2 separate regions of the Homo sapiens genome follow, and region 1 is linked to region 2. The links are contacts of gene promoters, found by promoter capture Hi-C in human tissues and cell types (Jung and others, 2019). All regions are on one chromosome and are shown on one strand. The core of a region is centred on a gene start or on the middle of the fragment in contact, and the rest is flanking DNA. Distances in the headings are between cores, read along the strand shown.

Region 1 (6,355 bases), core at 2,849-5,348, 66 kb before region 2:
TTAATTTTCCTCTTTTCCTTTTTTGGGGGTTGTGGAATACCCTATGGCAACTCCCCAGAGACTGAATCTATTGAGCTTGAGCTGTTAATGTGTTTTGGGCCTTGCAGAAGCCCTCATGTTTTCCAGCATTTTGAAATGTAGGAATTGTGGGGAAATGGAGAACTCTCCCAACCAGACCTCAGTGCTGTGCTGCCTTGCCTGTCTAACTGCCCTCACCAGACCATGCCCTCTTGGCATTCCCTGGTTGCTTCTTGGAAAAAGAAATAAATATCTTCCAATTTCTTGGGTGATTACCTGCTCCATTATCCAGTAGTTCCAAGGTAACTGTTTTTCCATTCACTGATTCAATCAGGGCTGTGACACTGGCCCTGAGAATTGGGGAGGCTCCTTGGCGAATATTTGCATAAACTACCAGAGGGCTGGGGAATTTGCTGGTGTCCTTGTTCGTTTTGGAAGTCACTGTAATTGGAGGCAGGGTAGCATTGGACGCACGGGACGTGACAGTCAGGGTCAAGGTTTGTGAGCTTGCTTGCAGACTGTATTTCCAAGTGCCAACCTGACCAAAACACATGTAAACATTTCCAATGAATAACTTCAGGTGACACAGACCTGACTTCAATGTCACGTACGGGAAAACCCTCTGATATAAGCATGTTGGAAGCATATCTAAGAAGAGGTGTGCATGTTTGATACTCTGTCAGCCACGGGGAGCTTCAGTGTGTTTGAACTAACTATATCATTCCCATTGTCAAGAAAATTCCACGGCGGGTGGGAGGGGGATGGTGAGGTCTGAAAGCTATATGCTTATTGTTGCCTTGGTTTTATAAGAGATGAGTCTCTGAGATAAAGGAAATAACTTTTATGATCCCAAAATGTCGAGGATCATTTTGCATCTTGATTACTATGTAATTTAAAGGTTCTCCATTTAGTACCTGGACAAAATATCACCTATTTCCTTTGTCTTTACTTGCTGACATACTGAGTGATTTTCATTGGATGGAGATTTTTTTTCCTCGTTCTCTCTTTGATTCAATACTGACTCTCCTTTTAGCAACCACCAACATTTAAAATGCTACAATTATTCTGTAAAAACTTTATTTTATCTTGTTGAATTATGAGAAAGAAAAAAAGCTGACTCCATACCTTAGCAATGCCTGGGATTTGGAGGTAGGCCATTTTGGTGTTTTTGTCCACTACAAAGCCACCTTGCTTCTGTCCACTGGGATCCCAGAGAAGGATTTGGGGAGGCTGCATTGTCCAGGTGATAAGAAACAAAGTGTCCTTTCCCACGGTGCTGTCCACGATCACTGTGCCATTCATCCACTGGCTGTTCTGGAGGGTTAATCCCTTACTCTCAAGCTGTTAAGAAAAACAGCTCTTACTTTCTGGAGAATACAGCTCCCATCACATGATCTTTTCCCTTCTGCCCCTGTCTCCCCAGTGCGCCATTAAAAAGACTTCAGTGATGCCTGAATCCTTGATTTGGTGTTAGGAGCAATTATGATGCAGTTCTAAGTTACCTTTCTAGCCTTAGCTTCCACAATTTTCCATCCTCCACCCAAACAAGACCACTCCCCAAAGGTCCTTGTGAATCCCTGACTCTTTGACTTTATTATCGTACTCTTTAGTTTTCCTAGAAGGCTTTACATTTGTCTTCTCCATTTATCTAAGCCTTCTTAGTCTTCTCTGTTTGTCTAAGCCTTACCCATCCTTCAAAATTCAAATATTACTTTCTCCATGAAGGTTTCTCTGCTGTCCATCTCATTTACCAGTTGTAAAAAATCTCCCCTTCCTCTGATCTCCTATAGGATTTTATTTCTATCAATCCTTCGACATTCATCATATTGTGCTTCGCCCTATATTTATTGGTATATGAAGCTCATCTTATTTATTAGACTATGAACCCTTAAGGGGACTCACTGTGACTTATTTTTTACCCACGCATGGATTGTCTGAATTACCTAATTGCTAAGTCAGGTAGTATTGCAGGCCCTGTGGAGATAAATGACATAAGCCAAGGCCAGCTTGTTTGGAATAGAATGAGGGAGCTGCAGAGTGGGAGTGAGGTAAGGAAGGATTAACAAGGCTTTTTTAGAAAATGTGATTTTGAGGATTATCTCCTAGGTAGTTATTGTCTCAGAGTTAGCACCTATTAGAAGACAGAGTGGGCTGGTCATAGAGCCAGATTTCCTAGTTTCACAGGTAGATCACAAGCTGGCAAGTGGAGAAAGCGAAGGGCTATTAGATCTGGTTCTTGTGGCACACTGGTGAATGAGTCTTGCTCATTTCTCCATCTCTCTCTCTCTCTCTGTTAGGTTTCTTAAATACAAAAATCATAGGCAGAAATTTCCTAAATGTGAACTTGTCCTTTTATCACTTTAATTACTTTTCTAGGAGACATTCCTCCCTTTTCCAAAGCAGGCCCTTGCATTTAATTTTCTAAATCTGAACCAGAATAACCCAGATGGGTATAATTGCTGTCTTCCTAGATTGAATAAATGCTCCATTGGTAAGCCAGAAAGCCTATGGTTTCAAAATCTCTCATTATTAGGCTTTGACATTACAGTTTTCCTTTATCTTTATCTGAACTTTCATCATAAAAATTATAATTCACACCAGTGTGAATGCTGATTGTTCACTCTCTCTAGTTTAAAAATTAATGTGAATAATTTCTGCAATTACTAAAAAAGAGCATTGAAAAAATACATTTTTCTTTTTTCTTAATAGTTTCAAGACTTTTAAAAGGCAATTTGGTTTTCTTGAAATTTTAGACCAGATGGGCCATTGGAAGTTTTCTGTCTCTACCTGGTGGAGAAATGAAGGTCCACAGAGGTGAAGTTCTTTGCCTAGGTCACATAGTTAATGGCAGACCGAGGACCAAGATCCAGGGGTCTGGACTCACACCACTGGCTTTTTACAGTACAAAGCACTTTCTGTCCATTATATGTAAATCTTGGCAAACAACAGAAATTTGATGTAATGGAAAAATAAAGCAAGTAATCCCTGGACACTTGTCCCAGAAAATTTGTAATTGAGATGATCTACTCTGAAGAAAATTCTGAGCCAATTATATTGCTCTAGTTGCTTGTTCAGAGATGTTAAAAAAGAATTCTTGGACATATGACATTTTATCTGCTGACTTCTGTGAGGAATTCACTTGGTATTGCTTCCAAACAAGTAGACACTAATTGCCTTGTTTAAATGAGTAGTGTTGCATTTTAGGAATAATGTTTAATATCAAGCTGGACCTTCTATTTTCATTTTAATTCAGTACCAGAAGAGTGGAAAACTTAAAACTTTTAGCCATTAAATTCTCCATCTTGGCTATGATTATGTGTAAATATGAAAAACCAAAGATTAAGAACTCCAACCTGGATGGAGCGCTGAGAGACAGCTCCATTTCCTGATGAAAGGGCCCCAAAAGCATCAATGAGGCCATTGTTCTGAACTTGATCTGAAGCATATGTCTGTAAACCTCCTAAAATGCAATTACATTTTCAGAAATTATTTTCCAGAAAGCAACTATTTGCAACATTTTAGCTGTTGTTTAGAGAGCATACAATATAAATATCCCTTTGTGTTATTAAAGTATAAATAGATCAACATCAAATAGGTGCCTACATTAACTCAGAATTTGATAGTATTTTTTTAACCTATTTATTTTTTCTAAGACAGGCTCTCACTCTGTTGCCCAGGGTGGAGTACAGTGGCATGATCCTGGCTCACTGCAACCTCCACCTTCCAGGCTCAAGCGATCTTCCTACCTCAGCTCCCAAGTAGCTGGGATTACAAGCATATGCCAACATGTCTAATTTTTGTATTTTTTTTTTTTTTTTTTTTTTTAGAGATGGGTTTTGCCATGTTACTCAGGCTGGTCTTGAACTCCTGGGCTCAATCAATCCACCTGCCTTGGCCTCCTAAAATTCTGGGATTACAGGAGTGAGCCACCACACCCAGCCACTAATTTTTAAATCTTAGTAAATAATAGCTTCAGCAACATCTCAGTCACCTGGCTACTTCAACTATCTGCAAAGCAGCCATGAATCTCTGATATGATTTGATATTAATTTATGATATAAATTGATGTCATAAAATCTACATATTAAAGGTCCTGCACTTTTACATGAGAGAAGTCATTAAGCCGTACTCCAGGACTATCGATTTACTCTTATTTGAAACATAATTCCAACAAACGTGGCTTTAGAGTTTTCTTCTAAATGAGGAAAGGCACATATGTGACAGCAGCAAGAAAAAACAGTGGACAAAGGGACACTTACAGAATAGTATATTATAAAAACAGGATTTTACACCAGGCCAGGCAGTCCTGGGCTATTTAGAATAGGTGTCACTAAGTTAGTTGATGTGAAAGCACTTTTTAACTATTATAATTCCATCTGAACTTAAGGAAATAATTTCAGTAAGGCTGTTGATGCCCCACGCACATCCCCTTACCCAGCCAAGTGCATCTCTTCCCAGCTGCTCTAGGCATTGGCTTATAGCTGCCTCCTCTTCCAGGGAATTATCTTACCAAAAGGGGCCACCCTACCTAGAGAAATAACATGCCCCTCTCCTCTGCCCTGTTCTGACAGTCCACAGCCAAAGACTGATAGACACAATGGTGCAAAAGGCCACCCTCCTGTCTCAAGGTGAGACAAGTCTGTGATGTACTTTCCATTCCAGAGTCCCCTGTGGGCACAGCTAGACTCCGACTAGGTCTGCATCAGTGCTTAGCTCCTTCCCTGGCCCTATCCTTTCCTCCTTCCTTTTCTCCTAAGAGCTCTCTCTCCTATAAATTGCATGGACCCAAATCCCTGTCTCAGGCTCTGCTTCTAAGAAACCCAGCCTAGGACAGGTAGTATTAGGAATAAACAGCTCTGGCATTTTAGTGGCCTCAGAAGGCAACTCAGTATAATAATTGAGATCCACAATATTATCCCTAAGTTAAAAAAGAAAAATATGTGTTCACCTACTCTGCTAAAGAAGCTGGTGACACATGGAATCTATTTTAACCATCTGTCTGTGTATGGGAGTTAGACACACAATACGTGAAGGTTTTATGGAGGAACTGCATTGTATTCCATTTTGGGAGTGATCTTTTGCCTTGTTTAACATGCCCTTTGCTCTTCCCTGCTACTTCTCCTGTTTCTTGAATGCTTTTTCTCCAGGTAAAGTTAAAGCCTCCCTTATTTGTGCTTTATTGTACTTTCTGTTGCTAATATAGCACTTATGCCATGGTGTTATGTAGTTAGTGGCTTGTCATCTGTCTCCCCTAGGTCTCTTGGCCAGCTGCCACTGGAAAGGAGTGGTTCCTGGCCCGGGAAGAAGGTCCTGAGTCCTCACTAGAGTGCTGTGCTAGTTCCATCTTCTCCAGGCTGCCTTAGTCCTAGACACAAAGCTTTAAAATAAATGGGCAGAGTCCACTTAAACAGTCATTCAGGGGTAAGGGTGGCTAGTTAGCCAATTAGGTTATCCTATCTCTCTCCATCCCATCTTTCCCCCACTCCCCAGTTCACTGGAGCTCACAGTCCAGTAGGAGAGACAATACCGGGGGTCTCAGCAAATCATCCCTCACCTGTCATTTTGGACAGCTCCTCTAGTTCTTGAGCTGCAGAGGGCCCCAAAGCGACTGTGTGGATGATGGCACCACTTTGTTTGACCTCGTTAAAGCACCCACTTATAGTGTTGTCTTCCCCATCCGTCAGCAGCACAATTTCAGATCCATCAGTTGGATATTTCTTCCTAATCACCTAAGGACAGAATTTAGGGCACGAGTTATCAGACTTAGGGTGGCCAAAGTGTTTATGAAAATTCTGCTTACAGGAAAGGAGAAAAGAAATTCTAGAGGGAATAACCAAAATTGTCTGGGAATGACCAAATATCTGTCTGTCTTGAAATGATACAATCTTAACCCAGCAGCATTCATGGAACTTGACCGCTGTCTTTCCCCTTGGCTGGTCTGCTGCAGAGAGGGACGGTGTGGGATGCAGGGCAACTCTAGGGGTGGACAGCACTGGGGAAACAGCAAAGAAGGTGTTCCTAGTTTCCTTCACTTGGTCTCTCCTTGATAGGCTTTCAGAGCTTCCAAGATGCCTTCAGAAACCATCTCATTTAATGGGGATTATATTGGGGGGATATTAGACCCAGGGCAGACTTTAACTTATATGATATTCACCAGTCTGACAATACCAGCTATTTCTGGCTGGCATTGGTTCTGATTGGTCATTACCTAGGTCACATGAGTTGTCAATATTTTTAACAGCCTTTCTGATTAAAGCAAAACATTTCATTTCCATTAATTCTCAGTTCCTAGTTGTTCTGTGACACCTATGTCTCAACTACTCCTGGTATATTTGGA
Region 2 (5,509 bases), core at 2,581-5,080:
AAGGCTGTAAAATGTTACAGCCTTTTGTGAACAACTTTCTGTGGGTTATTTTATTGGTGTAAGACAATAGAACATTATTTCTTTGAAAATTTGTCCTTTCTTTCCTGTAACCAATTAGATCAGCAAAACGATCATTCCAATGAAGTTATATTTCATCTTATGGCCTGACCATTTCCATTACTGTTGCTAAAACAGATTTTAAGTCCAAAACTGAAATATCCACTCATATAACTATCAAGACAAGAAAATGTTATATATAACATTGTTTCTTTTATTTTTGGGAAGAAAGATGACAGATTGTTCTGGATATGCACTTAAAAGTTAAATATGCTGTTAAGTTTTTTTAAAAGCTGATTTTAGAAAAATAGATCTAATACGATCCAATATACACAATTATCACTCTATGTACAATATGTATATGTGTTTTGTGTGTGTGTGTGTGTGTGTGTGTGTATGTATGTGTGTCCATCTGTGTCTGTGTGTGTGCCACTGAGAAGAAGAGGACAATACAATTTTTCATTTTTATTTTCCATGTTTCTACATTATTTAATTTTTTTCAATGAGTATAAATTACTTTTATAATAATTAACATTTATTTTTAGAAAGATAAGAATTCAAGCCAAGGTCATTACAAGGAAGTACCTACAAAAAAGGCTGAAGAGGTCACACTCTTGGATAGTCCTCACTTGGGTAAAACCTCATTCCTATGTCTGAAAATTTGTCCTGAGGCCAAAAGGAAAGAGTGCCCTTCATGGAATGGAATACTCAGAGGCTGTTTGGGGTTACTTTATACCTTATAGACCACAGTAATTCAGCTCTTATCTACTTTTCCTAACCCTTTCCCCCTTCCATGATTCCTACCTACATCTCATTGTAGACTTGGAAGGACAGGAACTACCTTGCTGGTCCTTGGGTTCTCTGAAGTGCCTAGCGTGGTCCCGTACATAATGATCATTCACTGTTTGCTTAATTGACATTCTGAGGTTAAAGAATTGGTATCCAACAGATAAATGAACAGCATCCAGGGACGATTGTTTCCTTTGGTCTTTCCGTTCACTCATATTTTCACTTTTGCTTTACTTATTTCTCTCCCCTCCATTAGGATCAAGTGTTACCTATGGCAACCTGGTTTTGGTGTTTGTTGTCTCCAATACTTCTTAGTTCTATTGAAGGCCCAATAGATGCATTAAATCTCTATTGACAGCTAGAGACAACAAAGCTTAGTGCAAAAAGCATGGGTTTTGGAGGCAAATAGACATTCAAATTATGGCTCTGTAATTTACTAGCTGTTAGATTTGGGACAAAGTCCATACCTTATTCAAGCCCCAGTGTTTTAATTTGTGATCACAGAAACTAATTTTAAGTTATGTGAGAATTAAATAATATATGTAAAATGCCTGGCACTTAGTTGGAGCTTAAACACTAACTCTTCCCAGCTTACCCCAGTTCCCCCACCTATCCTATCTTCATGTGCAAGCATTCTCAAATGCTTTCATCTGGTCATAGGTCAAATGCTTTTCACAGGCTCTTTAACTTCTTCAGGACATTGGGGTACCTATCTGGATTGCTATACCATTCAATTTCTGACAGAGTAGCTTTGAAGGAGAGCTAAGAATGAAACAGACTTAGGAAATTTCATACTGAGGGTCAGAAATAAGGAAAGGGGAAAGCTGTACCACATGTTTGAGTCATTCTGTTAGAGATGTAGTTACAATCTCAAACCCACTCCATTGCTGAAACCCTGAGATAAGTTGCCAATGCCTCTACTTCTGGCCCTTCTGGTAGCTGCAATGGACTCTTGTTCACAGTTGACTTCAAACAGTGATTTACCATTTATATTATTTATCATTTATTTATAGTGTGCACACTAGTATGTACCAGACATCATCATGGGTGCTTAATCATGATCTGCAACTTATGAGAGCCTTTCAAGGTGAAGTTCCTCTATAGGTGGAAAAAAAAAGGTAGCCATTCCCCTACTCATCCACATCCCCACATCCTTCCTCCCTTCCTTCTAATCTCCTTATTCCCCTAAAACAATATTCTGGACTTGAGCTAATGTGAAATTCTGATAATCTACACCATGGCATAAGATGGCAGTCATATTTTTATATGCATGGTGGTTTATATTTCTGTCTGGACATGCATGTTTATTGCTCCTGACAGGATGGTAAATGGGTATAGTCATAATTGGAACTGTTCCCTTTGCAGCTCATCCTCAGTAGGATAAAACTAGTTCTTGATCCTCAACCAAACTTTTCAGAAAGTACTCCATAAGTTACAAAATAAAGAGATCTTCTGAGAAACTACTTAGGCTATGGCATTTGACTCATTTTTTACTGCACAATTTGCATTCATTTATTCTCATATATTTTGTTGATAACATTCTGCCCATTAATATTATTTGCATTGTTAATACTGATGATTTGTTTTTACTTAACTTCTCACTTTTATCGTTTGAGCACAGTATATTTTGGTGTTTTTTTTCCCCTTGAGATCATTGAATGAAATCCTGGATTCTTACCTTTTCATATGATTCTTGTTTTATTTTGCTGTTATTATTAGCTTTCCATGTGGCAGGTATTAAAATCTTTATATTTCTGAAAAATACTCTTCTCTTGGTAGCATTAAATAGGTAAAATGAAGCTTCAGTTATCATTTCCTACAGCCAGACAAAAGAAAAACTTACTTTACCACTTGTAAATCCTGTATGTTTTGGTTTTCTGGTATGCTTAAACAGTAATAAAAGACAATGAAATATTTTGAAGAGACCCATTTCTTTTAGAGAAAGCCCTAGACTTTGGGAAAACATAGGAGCAAATTTTTAAAAAAACTTTAAATGATTATATGGAAGATTTTAGGACACTAATTATATGTCTGTGCTTGCCTTCATAGTTTTCCCAATTTTGAGAAAGGCTTTTAAGCTTTTGTGGAACAAATCCTTTTCATGTCACACCTGTGGGCACATTCAAGACCACACCTTATGATGCTACTGATTTCACTAAAGCAATACTAAATGGAGGCTCTTACATCATAGAGCTATGATCCTCCCTTGCCATATTAAAGTAAAAATAGTCAATTATGTTACAGCACATTCAAGTGAAAAGAAATAATTTTGCTTTTTGGCCCACCGTGCAGACTCTCACCCTTTCTGCCTGAGAATTCTCACCCTCAGGATGGAATCTAGCAATATGATTTTAACAAGCATGCTCATTATCATGCTTATTCATCAGTTAAATATTCAATCTTTGTTGCCACAATGGGTTGTTATTTTTCTAAGTTGCTACCCCAAAAACAGTCATGTAGGAAAACAAAAGAGCTGAAATTAGTAGCAACCAACAATAACAAAATAGAGGGCTAGATCAACACTCTGTGAGCTGAGACTACACAGAATTAGATGAACAAACTGGCTTAGTTAGCCATAATCATAACGTTGTGGCGCTATCTTTTAAAAATGCTGTTCTCTGTATTACTCAAATACAAACCAGGCAGGGTAGTTAGCTTCTAAATAAGGCTACAGGTCTGATCAAATGGGATGCTAGTATCAATTTCATAATTTCCACTCACCTTAATGTTTGAGATGAGGTTCTGATTCTCAGGTACCTGAGGATTAATTGCAATGAGCAATCCATTATACCCATTGTCTTGAAGCTGTACTCCAGCTCCCAGGAATGGGAGTTCTGAACTTAAGGCAACCAGGAGAGTCACAAACTTCAGGTTGCAAATAGGACCTGCAATGCTCCTTTGGGTCATGTTGTAGAGAAGCCTCCAGTTCACTCACACTGAGCCTGCTGCATACATTGTGTCAGGTTTTCAATATGGATGCAGATGGTTTCTTCCTGAACTTGCAAGGTTTTAGAACACAAGATGAAGGAGGTGTCTTCTTTGAAAAGTCTGGGGTGGATCCATCTGGGACCTGCCTCTACAAGTCCTTTTCCTCCAGGCAATGCTACACTTGCCTGTTCTGTGGCTGAGCTGCCTCCTGAATCATGGTTGGGCAAGAAACATTCTGCCCTTCATTCATTTTATAACTTTTCAGAAAGAAGAGGGAAATAAGACCAAAGGAGCTTAAAAGCAGGAAATATGGGCTGGAAATCAGTATATCTGGACTGTTCAATCCACTTGCAGTAGAAACACAGAAGTCTATAGTGATTTTCCTCTCCTCATTTTTCATAACCTCCTCCATCAGTTGGCACAAGTACTTTCTACTGCCCTCAAGTCATTTTTCATTTGTTGCAAGATTTCCTTGCCTGTTTATTTTGAAGATTTAGAAATCCATTCTGCAGCCCAGTCCCTACAGCCCTTGGGTCAGATAGTCTGGGCAAGCTCTCAGCTGATGGCTGGAGGTCAGATATCAGATATCCCCCAGAGAGGGCCAACTGCCAGGAACTTGGGTGCCTGTGCAGCCCTTTCCCTCTGGCCTTGCTACCTTTTCTCTCTGCCTCAGGAAGAAGAATAGATTTCTCCTTCAGCTCTCTCCTAAGGGCAAGGCCCTGCTTCAGTCAACCCTCCATTTCTCCAGGACCAAAAACAGGATCTAATATATAGTAACCATCGCAAATATTTTATGACTGATTCATAATACCTGATATTTACCTCATGCTTTAAAGTTTACAAATGAACTCATTTAAATATCAATACTCTGATGCAGGTATAATTTGTACTTTTCAAATGAAAATAATGAGTCTTGGAAATTCTGATTATGAAAATTAGCCAATGAGAGAAGAAACTAACATTTTTTGAGTGATGGATTTTATTATGCCTATTTTATGGGTGACAGAACTAATGTTCAAAAAAATCTAAGTAACTTGTTCAAGGTTGGGAGTATTATCATCGTACTAGAATGAACCAACTGACTCCAAATTCCACTGTTTTTCAATATATCATGTTCTCTCTTAGTTACTAAATTATCTTAGTAACCTCGTTTCTCCCTCTTCTTTGTGTTTAAGAATGCCGCACAGTGACATCTATTGTAAAACTAAAGAAAAAGTTTTATTCACAGCGTCAGAGGTCCACAGCAAGCAAAACCTGTGACTCTTCCCTGCTGTGGCCCCGTCTCGGAACATTTCTGGGGAGGGGAGTGTAGCATTTAGGAAACGGTCTGTCCCTGCTCTCAACAGGGATTTCACCAACATTGTCTGTTTTCAACATCTTCATGGGCAGTGTGATGTCACTCTTCTTCCCAGCAAGGTTGGAGTCTTCTGAACTTGGGCTTTGATATTGCACTGCAATGTTGACAGATGTTGAGGGAATTTTTTTCCCCTTGCTGTCTTGCTTGAATCATTTTCTCATGCTTCTTCTCACCTGCTTTTCCTTCAAATTCCAGCTGTGTCCTGGAAGCCTGGCCTGAGCTCCATAACTAAGTCAAATTCCCTTCTTTCATGCTTCCATAGCATCAGATAACTCACCTTTGCAGTATGATCATGGTAACAATGTCAAATTTATATTGTATAATTGATTGTCAGCTTCCTGCTGTATGAAGGAAGGGATGGAGTCTGTTTTCATTCAG

What was found. Contacts are between HindIII fragments. The study calls those that stand out against the background at their distance.
Region 1: a fragment that was not itself captured here is called in contact with the fragment with the promoter of CLCA2 in region 2 in 2 of the 25 tissues and cell types used here (liver and lymphoblastoid cells).

The regions. Positions count from the first base shown.
Region 1 is chr1:86,488,388-86,494,742 of GRCh38, reverse strand. CLCA1 (chloride channel accessory 1) reads right to left here. Exons shown (of 14, transcript NM_001285.4): 8 at 5,573-5,747; 9 at 3,372-3,478; 10 at 1,144-1,359; 11 at 295-556. All of the region lies in intron 1 of LOC124904210 (a long non-coding RNA gene), which reads left to right. Among named protein-coding and RNA genes, the nearest start is that of CLCA1, 23 kb to the right of the region's middle. The HindIII fragment of the contact is 7,623 bases long and covers 287-6,355 here.
Region 2 is chr1:86,422,492-86,428,000 of GRCh38, reverse strand. CLCA2 (chloride channel accessory 2) reads right to left here and starts at 3,830. Exons shown (of 14, transcript NM_006536.7): 1 at 3,568-3,830; 2 at 2,525-2,662. The coding sequence starts at 3,753. The HindIII fragment of the contact is 8,393 bases long and covers 1,934-5,509 here.